3 separate regions of the Homo sapiens genome follow, and regions 1 and 2 are each linked to region 3. The links are contacts of gene promoters, found by promoter capture Hi-C in human tissues and cell types (Jung and others, 2019). All regions are on one chromosome and are shown on one strand. Each heading gives the region's core, a stretch centred on a gene start or on the middle of the fragment in contact. The rest is flanking DNA. Distances are from core to core; before and after follow the strand shown. Region 1 overlaps HDHD2 (haloacid dehalogenase like hydrolase domain containing 2). Region 2 has its middle 19 kb from the start of IER3IP1. Region 3 holds the start of HDHD2 (haloacid dehalogenase like hydrolase domain containing 2).

What was found. Contacts are between HindIII fragments. The study calls those that stand out against the background at their distance.
Region 1: a contact is called between a fragment that was not itself captured here and the fragment with the promoter of HDHD2 in region 3, in 1 of the 25 tissues and cell types used here (H1 embryonic stem cells).
Region 2: a fragment that was not itself captured here is called in contact with the fragment with the promoter of HDHD2 in region 3 in 1 of the 25 tissues and cell types used here (liver).

The regions. Positions count from the first base shown.
Region 1 is chr18:47,107,089-47,112,038 of GRCh38, forward strand. HDHD2 (haloacid dehalogenase like hydrolase domain containing 2) reads right to left here. Exons shown (of 7, transcript NM_032124.5): 7 at 322-1,697. The coding sequence ends at 1,594. Among named protein-coding and RNA genes, the nearest start is that of HDHD2, 41 kb to the right of the region's middle. The HindIII fragment of the contact is 3,963 bases long and covers 1-3,372 here.
Region 2 is chr18:47,192,630-47,197,642 of GRCh38, forward strand. No RefSeq gene overlaps it. Among named protein-coding and RNA genes, the nearest start is that of IER3IP1, 19 kb to the left of the region's middle. The HindIII fragment of the contact is 4,108 bases long and covers 1-3,812 here.
Region 3 is chr18:47,149,226-47,153,632 of GRCh38, forward strand. It overlaps HDHD2 (haloacid dehalogenase like hydrolase domain containing 2), which reads right to left and starts at 1,275. Exons shown (of 7, transcript NM_032124.5): 1 at 1,153-1,275. IER3IP1 (immediate early response 3 interacting protein 1) reads right to left here. Exons shown (of 3, transcript NM_016097.5): 3 at 3,609-4,407. RefSeq lists an enhancer at 684-743. The HindIII fragment of the contact is 18,750 bases long and covers 1-4,407 here.

The DNA.
Region 1 (4,950 bases), core at 141-2,640, 42 kb before region 3:
CACAAACGCACAGCACTCATCATTTGCCCAATGATATTCTAAGTACTTAATATATAGTTCATGCACGTAATGCTCACACCAACCGTATGTGGTGGGCACTATCATTATCCCCATTTTATAGATAAGGAAAGAAGGCATGAGAGGTGAGGTGACTTGCCCAAGGCCAGAGAGCTAATTTTGTGTTACCAGGATCCAGAGTATACTCTTAGCCACTCCGCTCATCCTTCTGATTTGGGGTGGTAGTCATATCACATCTGTCTTTTGCACTCTGGGATATAGAAGTACTAAGATGAGGCATTTGCAAAAACAAAAACACAGTGCTCACCAAACTAACATTTATTTAGCTTTGTTCCCTCCCATCCAAGACTGCTGATCTCTAAACAAGCATCAAAACCCGAAGCTCATTAACATCAGAGTGAGCTTCAATAAGGTGAACACTACAATGATGTACAATTACATCCTAATAATTCAATGCCCAAGAGCCCTGTAGAACTATTGCAAGGCCCAGGATTATCACAGTATGCAAATGCACTAGGAAAATCATTACCTATTTAGTCCCCTTTATTTTGGTGGGTTTAACATGAGAAGAATAATCCATGCTACAAGACGAGATTTCATTTTACAGCTGTAGTAACCAAGTGCATAAAAGCTTGAATCTGTCCCAATAGCTTCTAAAAAATTTTTCCCATAGTGTCAGAGGCAAAAATAATGAAATCTTGCAAATGTACAGTTAATAGGACCCTAGTGGACACTAACTTCAAAAATGCATGGTCTATAAGATATTATAAGGCTTGATTCTAGTTTCTGCACTGTTCCTGTTAATAACAATGTCTAATTAAAACATCTGTAAAATACTGATAGTTTTAATTTTACATAAAATTTCCAAAACAACTGTTACACAGTATAATAGGTATCTGCAATGAATAGGTTATTAATGGAAATATTAATTTAAATTAAAATCTGGTTCTAAATTTAAATTAGTCATCTCTGGCTAATGAAGAGAAAAAGAAGTCACCCGTGCTGGGAATACAGTAGAAAATTTAGTTTTCAACATCTGTTAAAGCAAATTCACTGTACCACTTGGGCTAAAGAACAATTCACTTTGTTGCTTTCTGTCTTCTCCATTTGGCACATCTGATGGATTTCACAGTTGAACTCAATATTAGAACTACAGCCTAATGCACCTTTTAATACATTACTTTATAATTTAAAAACCACCATTCAACTTTCTTCACAGTCTGAAATCCCCCCTCCCTGTTTTCCAGTGAAGAGACAGCAGAGAACACTCTTCCCTGTAGTAGCTTTTCCCCCACAGCCCCACCTAACCTGATGAATATTTTAAAAGGAATGGCACAAAATCTCAGCTTTCCCTTTCTTTGGGTCTCATCTTCAGTTACAAAATAAAAGAGATTAGCAAGGCTTACTGGCTAGCCGCAATTCAATACCTTTCTTTCTAATTAATGCACAACAAAAGAGGGTTAAAAAGCGATCAGCACTGACTGGTGTCTACCGATGCTGGCACTGAGTTGGTAAGGGATTCATTCCAGACAATAAGAAGCTGCATTTCAAGTTGCTTCAGATGCACACACTGCTTCACAATAGGTGCTGCAGAATGTGGTCCACAGCATGAGGGAAACTCTCACAAGTTAAGTAAGGAGGTGGATTAATTTTTTCTTCATCTGATGCTCGATATTTCCCTGAAATGAAAGTAAAGCCAGTAAACACAGGCTGCCACCAGAATGCTAAATTAATCATACCCCATGAGCACCTGGGTCATCACAGCACCACCCTTACAGTTAAGACAGAATCAGGGGCTGCACATCTCCCAAATCACCTTTTATTGAGGCTTCAGGATGTAAATGAGGCAATTCAAAGAAATGTCACATTCAGCCTTTCCCCAGGCCCTCTGGTCATTCACAATGGACAGCCACAGGTACTGGATCGTCTGACAGCTAAGATTCCCTTCACATGTTCACAGCTGATGAAATCATTTTCTTTCCCCTACCCTCAGCTCTAAAGATAGATTGGTGATTAAATTAATGCTTTAAAATGGAAGCCCAGACCCCAGAGGGCAGAGGACTCATCCGCTCCCAAAGGCAACTGGGAACAGGATGTGCTGCTGCCACGCAGGGATCCAGGCAGCCCGGGAGCCCAGCAGATGAGAACGCCCTGGGTTGGGGAGGAAAAGAGTGATGGATGCTCGCAGGCCAGGGGCCAGGCAGGACAGGCCACTTGGCATCAAGCAGCAGGCTCACTGCCTGACTCTCCCAACCGTGGAATTCAAGATGGCCTGCTGTTCTAGCACCTGGCACACAATTTAACACCTCAACACAGCAGAGGAACCATTCCACAGTGGTCACAAAGAGCTTTTACAAGTCAGAAGGTGCACAGTCCCTATTTAAAGACCCTTTAATGGGTCCCAGTGCCCTTCAGAAAGAATCCAAAATCTCTACTGCTGCTTACCAAGCCCTTTGTCATGCAGCCCCAGTGACCCTCTCACCTAAGCATGTGCTACTGGCTCACCAGGCTGCAGTCCCAGACTGGACCTGCTTTTCTGAGGGCCTACACACGTGCCATTCCCTTGTCATTCCATTATTCTCACCTGACTACCTCCTTCATGCTTCAGGTCAGACCCCACCTTCCCATCCAAATTAAACCCCCTCCCTGTTATTCACCTTGTTCTTTGCCTCCACAACATTTACAACAATTTGTAATTATGCATTTATTTGTTTAACATCTGTCTCACATTTAAGAAGACTAAGTTATTTGAGACAGGGGCTATATCTGTTACATGTCCCAATGTATTCCAAGTACCTAACATAGTGACTAGCACATAGTAACTATCCTATAAATATCTTTTTAAAGAATGAATGGAGGGAAGAAGAGAGGGGAGGGAGGAAATGCAGAACGCAGCTCCTGCCCTGTAGCCACCAGGGCTGCCTCTGCCCTTCACCTTTCTCCTTGCTCTCTCATCCCTTTGTGGTCTCTATTGTTGATTCTTCTGCTTTTCCCAGTTTTCTCTGCCTAAACTCAGCTCTTTCAACAAGAGACCTACTGTTTTCTACAACTACTTTAAGAGGCTTTGCCAGACAAACACAAAGCCTGAAAAACCCTCTTTTCCACATCTTTGCATCATGGTGGAGAAGACGCTTCCTGTCTTATCTTACTGATTATAACTTCTTACAGGAAGGGAGCCAGCATCAAATGTACAAAGGTAATTAATATATACCTCACTCTCGTTAGCACCCTGAAGGCACCTGTCCATAGCATGGTCCCCGCAGCAAGCTCTACTGCCAGTTTTCTTCCCAAGCTTAAATATCGTTAGTATAAACTCCTTCACAAGGTTTCTATTTGATCTTACAGGTAAGTTAATGACTAAATATTACTATATGACCTACTTTCTGGATCCAGTGGTCTAAGAGACAAATAAATAAGCTTCCTAGCCATGGAGTTAAAGGCTTTTGCTTAGTCTGGCTCTGCAAGTGGGGTTTCTACAAAATAGAAATTGACAAAAGTGGCTTAGGTATATGTTTTAGTTCTAGCACCTAGCACACAGCAGGGGCTCAATAACGTTCGTTGAGTGAATGGAGCTGCCTGCATTGCTCATGGCTGATTCACTCACTGCAGCAGCCTGTGCTTTCATGGATGGATAAATGATGAATGGAGGGAGAAAACAGGATGCTATGTTGATGATATATGAAGGCAAAGAAAGATCCTATTTTTTTTCTAGATGACTGTTTCACATGCTAAACAAATTCTGGTTAGGACTAGTCAAAAATCTTTAACAAATAATTGATCAAATTATATTGAGCATCTACCTTGTGCTACCCCTTTAGAAACAAAATTGCTCGAGATGATCCACAGAAAGCACTTATTATTGAATATGAATTAAAATATTTACGGTTATTTTCAACACTGGGAAGCCTAGCACTTGTCCACTGCACTGAGTTAAAATTTACCAATGAAGCTGGCTGTTCCACATGTTTTTAGAACAGTAGGGTTATTCATGATTTTTCTGACCAAAAATCAATGGTACAAATATGCCTGCTTCCAAGAGCTGTACTTAGTTGATTTACTAATTACACATTTTGGACTTGATTGTGTTACGCTGATGGCTTCTCAGAGACTAAACTGATGCCTGTGAAAGGCTGGTCACAATAAAATGCCAGTCACAATAGACGACAGAGCCAGTGGAGACCAGCTGGGGGAGCTGGGCCCATCAAGACACTGACAGAGGTACCATTTTGAAGCTCAGTGTAAATCCTTAATTACATGAGCTAAAAAAAAAAAAAAAGAAAGAAAGAAAGAAAGAAATACTCATGGGAATAATACACAAGAGCAAAAATAGTTATCTAAGGATTTCTTCAATAATGAGAAAATAAAACAGCAAAAGGCAGGAATCTGAAAACAAAGATACATGGAGGCTGACGAGTGTGGCTACTTTTCCAGACTTCATTTCATTCTTCCTCTTTTCTGCTTACATCACAGGGCTGTTACGTTCCTGGGAAGGTGATCATTTTGACTGAGACATTCGAAAAAATCCACTGTGTTAATTCTAGAGTGACTGGTGTTACTATCTGCAAGGCTCCAATGGTTCACTTCAGGCCCCAGGAGCAAGCAGACAGTGTTTTCACTCTTTGTGCAGACCTTTGCCACATACTTCTTATTCAATTGTAGCTCCATCTACATTTCTTGTTTCTATTTGAAATTCAAAACAGATTTCAAGCAACCACATTTTCTTGAACAAACATCATAGTCACTTTTTCTAAAAAATTCCCCAGTTGTAACTCTTCTTTGACTTTATGTTTAAATATTCCCTTCTGTAAACAGCCAATTAAATAGTTTTACTACTATGATATGAAACCAGGCAAATGAGCTCACAGAGACATCTATGGAACCATTTATCTGCTATTTGATTTATAAGAGTCTGGTGATGATTCTTGGACAAGA
Region 2 (5,013 bases), core at 509-3,008, 44 kb after region 3:
AACATTGACAGGTGAAGCTGAGAGCTGAGGTGTGAGAGTAGATGAGACCAATCTGCCAATTCATGTAGCTTGTGTGATTTCTTCTTGACTGTGTGATTTCAGTCCTGCCTAACCTCCACCCCCACCCCCTGGGTAGGAATGATGGGGTCAGGTAAGAGGAGAGCTCAGAAGATCAACTACTTGCATTGGCAGAAAAGAAAAGTTAGAAAGAAGCTGAGAAGAGGGAGAGATCGGGGACTGGAAGTCTTGAAGAGGTGGATGAAAATGCAGAAAGAATGGGTGATTGGGATTAGAAAGTAGGATATTTGAATGTAGCATTTCAGAGGTGATGACATGGTGTGACATGTATGGGAGATTAAATATGGCCACAACTTCTTTGCAGCTCCTCTTTCCACTCTGAATCTGAGCTGGCCTTGGCACTTGTTTTCATCAATAGAATGCAGATGCAGTGATGTTGTGCAAATTCTGGAACCTAAACCTCAAGAGGCCTTATAGCATCTGCCTTTGCTCTTGGAATGCTGCCCTGGCACCCCCATGACATGAGAAAACCCAGAATGAAAGACCATGGAAAGAGAGTCCCAGTTATCCCAGTTGTCTCAGCGTAGCCCACTTCCCACCCACCTGCCAGGAGTGAGCCCAGTGGGACCAACAGAACTGCCCAATCTGCCTACAGACTCATGAAAATTAATACATCATTGTTTTAAGCCACTAAGGTTTACAGTGATTTATTTCAGCAATAGTTAACTAAATCCCATGGGAGTACCCTAATGTGATATAGCTTCCTTTGGCTAGAGCCTCCTTCCCCCATCTTTGCCACCCATTCCCCTGCACTCACACTTTATTTGACCAAATGTTCAGTCCATGTATCACCCCCTCTAGCCAAAGTGTACCAAGAAGGATGAAAATAAGATGTTAGAAAGAAGCCTTTCCTCATCCTCCAGTCCACGTCAGATGTTCTTTATGTTTCCAAAGCATCTTCTGTCTATCTCTACCACAGCACTCCTGCTGCATCATAAATATTTGTATTCTTCACTGCACAGCATGTATCTTGAATGTAAGCTTTCCTAAGCCCAGTACCTTGCACCATTCCTGGCACCTAGCTGTCATTCAGTTGTTTATTGAAGAAATAATCCAATATTTTACACTTCAGATGAAATCTTGCTCCTTCACTTACAGAGAAATAGCCTTGCCAATAGTATAACATGACAATGACCACAGTATCCATACCTAAAAATACACTTTGTGTAGTAACGGAAGAGATGAATACTCATGAATGGTTTTACCCTCCTCCTTGCTAATCAAAGTCTTATTGGTACAGATTAAATCTCACCTCCTCCATGAAGCATTGCCTACTAGTGCTATCCGACACTCACTCACTCTGTTGTACTCACTCACTTAGGCTTCTTTATTGCCTGGCTTACTGATTCACAGCATGAGTTTGGGAATCAAAGAGCCTTAGGTTCAAATCCCAGGTGGACTATTCATTTTATTTATTGAACACATCACTTGAACCCTCTGATACCCACTTTCCTGATCTGTAAAATGGTTGTAAGAATCCCTATCTTATGGGGTTATTGTATTATATAATAAAGTATTTAGTACTTGATACTTGGTAAGTTCTTAATAAATGGTAGTTATTATTCGTGATTCTTCCTGAAAGGATCTGTAGGGAGGTCTGTCTGTTCCATGACCCTAAGCAGAACCACAGTTATGCCATCCTGTAGAGCTGCCTTTAGCATTTCAGAGAAGGGTTATTGGTAAGATGGCACAGTTTCAGAATCTTACTCATTGAAAATCTTTCCTAATGCATGGTGAATGACTACAAGTCTGGGTTTGCTTGAGGATTGTCATTAGTTGAAGAGGTGACACTTTAGGGGCATTTATCTGGATTTCTTTAGTATCTGCTTTGAGGAAGGTCTTTCTCTTTGTAGCAAAACAACTATTCTGTTTTTTTATTTGTTTTGTTTTGTTTTGTTTTGTTTTGTTTTGTTTTAAGATGGAGTCTTGCTCTGTCGCCCAGGCTGGAGTGCAGTGGCGCAATCTCAGCTCACTGCAAGCTCCGCCTCCTGGGTTCATGCTGTTCTCTTACCTCAGCCTCCCGAGTAGCTGGGACTACAGGCACCCGCAGCCACGCTAATTTTGTTATTGTATTTTTAGTAGAGATGAGGTTTCACCATGTTAGTCAGGATGGTCTTGATCTCTTGACCTCGTGATCCACCCGCCTCGGCCTCCCAAAGTGCTGGGATTACAGGTGTGAGCCACCATGCTCAGCCAACTATTCTTTACTAGTGCTGACAGCTCCATTTTGGGCTCTTGTGGCTTGAAAAAATTGATAACCTAATCATTTCCCATTTGCTGCTTCTAACAACCCACTTCACATGATACTATTGTGCGGGAATGTGCAGAAATGGAGATGACGTTTAGTGAAGAGCCCTGGGACCCTCAGAGGAAGAAGCCATCATCATGAGGTCATCTTTGTGGCTGAAAGATACAAAGACCCCTAAATTCATAGAATGAGAGGCTCTAAGCTTTCCTTTATGGATCATGAAGGGGAACTAAGGGGAGTAGCTCTTTCCAGAATGGATTAGCTTCAATGTTCCAGATGAAGAAGACAAAGAGGAGAGGGGGTTGCAGAAGAAGGAGAGGAAGTTGAAGAGGAAGACAAAGAGGAGGCAGAAAAACAAAAGAGGAAGGTGTAGGAGGAAACAGCAGAATTGATCAAGCAGAGGAAAGAATCAGTGAGCTCAAAAATAGGCCATATGAAAATACATAGAGGTGAAAAAAGAATGAAAAGAAATGAAGATTGCCTACAAGATATAGAAAATTACCTCAAAAGACTTCAAATGTAAGAATGATTGGTGTTCCAGAGGGAGTTGTGCAAGAGCAGGGAGCAGAAAGTTTACCCAAGGAAATAGTAATAGAAAACTTTTCAAAACTTGAGAAAGATATAAATGTCCAGGCACAGGAAGGTCAGAGAATAACAAACAGTTTTGACCCAAGTAAGACTATCCCAATGTAATAATCAAAGTCTCAAAAGTCAAGGACAAAGGAGGATGCCAAAAGCAATGATTGAAAAGAAGCAAATAACATGTAAAGGAGCTCTATTTCATCTGGCAGCAGACTTCTCAATGGAAGCCACATAGGCCTGGAGGGAGTGGCTTGGCATTTTCAAAGTGCTTAAACATAAAAAATTGCCATTTAAGAATACCATATCCAGCAAAGCTATCTTTTCAATATAAAAGATTAATTCTTTCCCAAGCAAAAGCTGAAAGAATTTACTACCACCAGACCTGTCTTACAAGAAATGCTAAAGAGAATTCTTCAACATGAAAAAATAATCCACTGTATTAGTCCATTGTCACACTGCTATAAAGACATACCCAAGACTGAGTAATTTATAAACAAAAGAGGTTTAATTGATTCACAGTTCCACAGGCTGTACAGGAAGCATGGCTGCAGAGGCCTCAGAAAACTTAAAATCATTGCAGAAAGTGAAGAGGAAGCAGGCACATGTTTACATAGATGGCAGGAGAGAGAGAGAGTGAAGGGGGAAGTGCTACACACTTTCAAACAACCAGATCTCATGAGAACTCACTACCATGAGAACAGCAAGGAGGAAATCTGCCGCCGTGATCCAATTACCTCCCACTAGATCCCTCCCCGAACATTAGATATTACAATTCAACATGAGATTTAGGTGGAGACACAGAGCCAAACCATATCACCCACTAATGTGCACTAAGAAAACATTTGAAGGTATAAAACTTACTGGTAAAAGTGAGTACACAAACACATTCAAAATATTCTAATACTGTAATTGTGGTGTGCAATCCACTCATAACTCTAGTATGAAGCCTAAATCTATCAAAAACAGTAGTAGATGCAGCAACCTGTTAAGAAATAGACAATGTAAAAATATGTAGATTGAGACAACCAAAAATCAAAGTGTTGTGGGGATGGAGTTAAAGTGCAGAGTGCAAAGTATAGAGTTACAGTGAAATGATGAAAAAAGATATCCTATGCAAGTGGAAAGCATAAAGAGCAGGAGAAGCCATGCTTAACTCAGATAAAACAGACTACAAGTCTGGCTGGGCGCAGTAGCTCACGTCTGTAATCCCAGCACTTTGGGAGGCTGAGGTGGGTGGATCACTTGAGGTCAGGAATTCGAGACCAGCTGACCAACATGGTGAAGCCCCATCTCTACTAAAAATACAAAAATTAGCTGGGTGTGGTGGCACATGCCTGTAATCCCAGCTACTCTGGAGGCTGAGGCAGGAGAATCACCTGAACCCAGGAGGTGGAGATTACAGTGAGCCGAGATCATGCCACTGCACTCCAGCCTGGGTGACAGAGCAAGACTTAGCCTCAATTAAAAAAAAAAAAAAAGAGTAGACTATAAGAACTCAAAGAAGACTGCTGTGTAATAATAAATGGGGTCATTTCAGCAAGAGGATATAACAATGTAATGATAAAGGGGTCATTTCAGCAAGAGGATATAACAATGTAATGATAAAGGGGTCATTTCAGTAAGAGTATATAACAATTATAAATATGTATGCACCTAACACCAGAGTATCCAAGTATATAAAGCAAACATTAATAGATTTAAAGGGAGAGACAGACTGCAGTACAGTAATAGTGGAGGACTTCAACACCCCATTCTCAGTAGTAAGACAGATCATCCAGACAGAAAATCATCAAAGACACATTACATACTAGACCAAATAGGCATAATGGACATTTACAGAACATGTCATCCAGCTACTGCAGAATACATATTCTTTTCATCGGCACATGGAAGATTCTCTGAATAGACTATATCTTAGGCCACAAAAGAAGTCTCAACAAATTTTAAAAAGCAGAAATCATATTAAGTATCTTTTCTGACCTCAGTGGTATAAAACTAGAACTCAATAATAAGAGGAACCTTGGAAACTCCACAAACACATGGAAATTAAACAACATGCTCTTGAATGATCAATGGGTCAATGAAAAAATTAAGAAGAAAACTTT
Region 3 (4,407 bases), core at 25-2,524:
CATCTAAATATATATTATGGCATATTATTCAAAACTTGCATACTTACAACAAGAGATTTTAATACAAATTTTCCCTTGGGAAATTGGGGCGCTACAAAACATGCCTCCTAAAACCCCTGGGAAGTACAAATTTTCTTTCCTTCCCTATATGGTTCCAGACTTTTCTGGAACCACTGTAGGCATTCAATAAATGACGGTATTATTCAGCCACTCCCCAGTTAAAACTCTTCCAGTGACTCCCCGCTGACCTCTGGATAAAGTCTGAACAATGAACACTGGTGGACAGAGTCCTGGTTTACCCTCTCCAACACATTTGTCTCTACTAGCACCCAAGTTCCATGGTACTGCAGGCGGCCAAGAGCTCTACACTTTGCCTCCCTCGTTGCGGGACTTTTGTCTGCAACTACTCGGGCCCCTCTACACCCTCATCTCCTGGCCAATCCCTTTAGCCCTCAGTCTCTGATAACCATCACTTCCTCTGGCGTGCCTCCTCTGGGTCCAACTCCTTTTCTCCCAGAGTTAGGCTAGGAGCCACCTGTGGTCCTACTACATTTACCACTGTCCTGGTTACCAGCCCGCGCCTCTCCTACTAAACTGTTAAGCTCTGTGCATAAGGGACTGTGTTGCCTTTCCCACTGGGTTATTTAGGCGTTCAATAAAGATCGTGAATTAACTCATGAATCCCGGTGTCCACAGCTGGAAGGCCCCAACAACAAACTCTTTCAGCACCAACTCAACTTCCATCCCCCCATCTCTTGGCTGGGAAGGGGCCTCAAGACTGGTCACTGCACTCGGTTCTAAACCAAGTACCAGGGCCTTAAAAACGCCAAACTGACCAGGAGGGACGCTAGCTCCAAAATACAGCCCAAGAGCACGCTTCGAGGAATGACTGACACACTAGCTTCACGATCCGCCCCGCAGAGACCCACAGCGCGCCTCGCGCCCAGCTATGCGCACGCGCGGGGCCACTGCAAAGAGGGCGGTTCCGACGCGGAAAACAGGGAATGCGCACAGAGCAAGAGCGCACGGCCCGGCTCGAGAGGAGGGGCGGCCTGGGGGCGCCACTAGTAGTTCCCGAACCCTGTCACAAAATCTGCAGCCTCCCGGCCCCAATTGCGCTTCTTCCTCTTCAGTCCTACAGCGGCTTCTCACCCACACTCCGTACGCCGTCCTCAGGAAAGGCCCCCGCTAATGGCAAAGCCAGCCACCCGCACTGGCCGCGGGTCCTCAGCCGGGATAGACAGCCCCGCTGCTGCCCGACGGACGCCGGAAGTTGGGCCCTGGCCGCGCCGGAAGCCCCGGATTTCCCGGCTCCGCCCCACCCCTTCGCCCGGGATTTCCGCCGAGGCGGTGCAGCTACCGCGCCGTGTTGTCCTCTGTCTGCACCGCCGCTGACGGAAAGCTAGGCCCTTCTGGAGACCCGCTTTCCCAAGGGCGCGGCCTCCTGGGCCGGGATGCACGAGGAAAAATAATCCCCTGCCTTTCTTCGGTAGCTGTTTTCCAGTCCACAGCACCACTGCTGAACCGAGCGTTACTGAGTAGCGTTCTTTGCCTTCACCCCTCCCTTCCTCTACCACTTGTCCACTCTCGAGGTTTAACTAAGAAGTCATACTTTACTAGACAACCCAATCTCAGAAGTCGTCATTTCCCCCTTAGCTACTTGAATAGTACCTGGCACCTCTTGCTTCCTCCATTAACTACTCCCTCGGGCAGCGACGTCCCTCCTTTCCCTCTTCTCTCCCGATTAGAGCCACTACGGGCCGTGCCTTCCTCTTCCACGGGAGCTCTATCTTGGTACACCCAGAACCACCTCCCTCCCTAACCCGCTGCCACACTCGTGGGGGTCTCTACCTGTCTCCTCTTGATCCAGGTAAGTTATGTGGACCTGAATAATAGAGTACAGAAAAGTCACTCTTATGCACTCACTATGAAAATGACTGAACAACTTTCTGGAGCCGTGTTGACATAATAGGATACTCACTCGGGTTACACCTTATACAAGGGTTATACCCCTTGATAAAACCACTGCTCTGTCCTTGACTAGGGACCCATATATGCCACCCGTATGCCACAATCTAACACCCCCACTACCCAAGGCTGCAGTCAGCCCTGTTAGGAGCTGTGACCCATTCTGTCCCTTGGACTAGGAGCCATCTGCTTTTCCTCCCCACTGGATCTGAAGTTTTTTTGTCTTACTCATATATGCTAAGTTTAAGTTTTCTGTGTGAGGGTCTAATTGGTTGAAGGAAAAAGGATTTGGTCCTAGTTTCCCCTTATGAGCCAGCTGTCTTTGACCAGATTAAGACATCACCAAAGGATTTTAAGTGGGTAATATAAGAAGTGTATTTTTCTAAATGCTTCCTCTGCCTGCAGTATGAATAGATAGGAGAGATGCCAGAATGGGTGAGACCAGATAAGAGACCCACTGCAGGGCCACAAGAGAGATACTTGAACTAGAATGTGTGGAAACAAAGCAAAGAGGATAAATTCATAGGAGGCAAAACAGAAACTGGTGACAGATTAGATTGGGGTTAGGGAGAAGGCATCAATTATCAGGCTCCAAGACTAGGCAATTGGGTAGTGTAACTGATTTTTTTTTTTTTTTGGAGACAGGGCCTCACTCTGTCACCCAGGATGGAGTGCAGTGGCACAATCATGGCTCACTGCAGCCATGACTTCCCAGGCTCAAGGGATCCTCCTGCCTCAGCCTCCCCAGACAGCTGGGACCACAGGTGCACACCACCACAACTGGCTAATTTTGATTTTTGTAGACAGGGTGGGGTCCCACGATGTTGCCCAGGCTGGTCTCAAACTCCTGGGTTAAAGCAATTCTTCCACCTCAGCCTCCCAAAGTGCTGGGATTACAGGCGCGGGCACCAATGCCTGGCCTCATTCAGATTATGTGGAATCATGGGACAGGACTAATGGCTTTCTCCTCTCCAAATGGATCTACTTGATGAAAGGCAAGCTAAGAAGAAATTCAGCCCCTCCAAAGGGAGGGACTGGATTCAGAAAAAAAAAAAAAAAAAAGGAGCGGGGGGGCAAAAAACCCAAAGGAGTGAAGCCATAAAGCAGTATCTGAACTGGAACAAAAACAGTAGGAAAAACTTATCTTGATCGTTGATACCCTTGGACATAGCCCACTGTGTCCCAGGTCCTTGCATCGAATGTTTTCACAATATTTGACTTCTAATGAAAAATCAGGGGCCAAGAGAAATCTTAGCAAAGAAGAATTCCATTACCATTGGTATCAAAATGTTATTTTTGTTGTTTTGAGACGGAGTCTCACTGTGTAGCCAGGCTGGAGTGCAGTGGCACAATCTCAGCTCACTGCAACCTCTGCCTCCCGGGTTCAAGCGATTCTCATGCCTCAGCCTCCCAAGTAGCTGGAATCACAGGCATGTGCCACCACACCCGACTAACTTTTGTCTTTTAATAGAGACAGGGTTTTGCCATGTTGGCCAGGCTGGTCTCAAACTCCTGACCTGAAGTGATCTGCCTGCCTCAGCCTCCCAAAATGTTGGGATTACAGGCGTAAGCCACCATGCCCAGCCTCAAAATGTTACATTGGTAATAACTTAGAAACTAATAAATCAATGAGAAAGTGATTTGCTTCATAAGAAACATTTTACTTAAGGAGAACATCTCTTTGGTTGAAGCACATCTAGATACAAACATTAGTGATCTGGAAAAGATATATATATATATCTGGACCAGACTTCTGTTCTGAAGGTTATTGACCAATTTTACAGATAGGACAACCAAAAACTACTGAGGTCTTAGGAAGTTTATTTGCTTTCAGTCACATGGTAAAAGGTTTGCTTGATATATTAGAAATATCTTGCCTCCTAGTCTTTTTACTAGTCAAATATCTTGCTTTCTCTTGTCATTTCACCAGTAATACACATCTAACACATATAGAACACAGATTGCCTACTCTTATTGTATCTAAAGCAAGGATTTTGATGGGGAGAGGAAGGTGGGGGAACTCATTTAGCTTTTTATTTCAATAGCTTTAGGGGTACAAGTGGTTTCTGGTTACATGGATGAATTGTATAGTGGTGTAAAGTCTGAAATTTTAGTGCACCCATCACTGGACTACTGTACATTGTACTCAGTATGTAGTTTCTGTTTCCCTCACCCCCTCCCACCCTCCCTAAAGCAGGGATTTTATTTTTTTATATTTTTACTTTTTTAACTTTTAGGGGTACAGTACATTTGTTAAATAGGTAAACTTGTGTCACGGGGGTTTGGCACAGATTATTTCGTTATCCAGGTGCTAAGCCTAGTACCCAGTAATTTTTCTGGCACTCTTTCTCACCCTCCACCCTCAAATAGCCCCCAGTGTCTGTTGTCCCCCTCCTTATGTCCATGAGGTCTTATCATTTAGCTCCCACTTATAAGTAA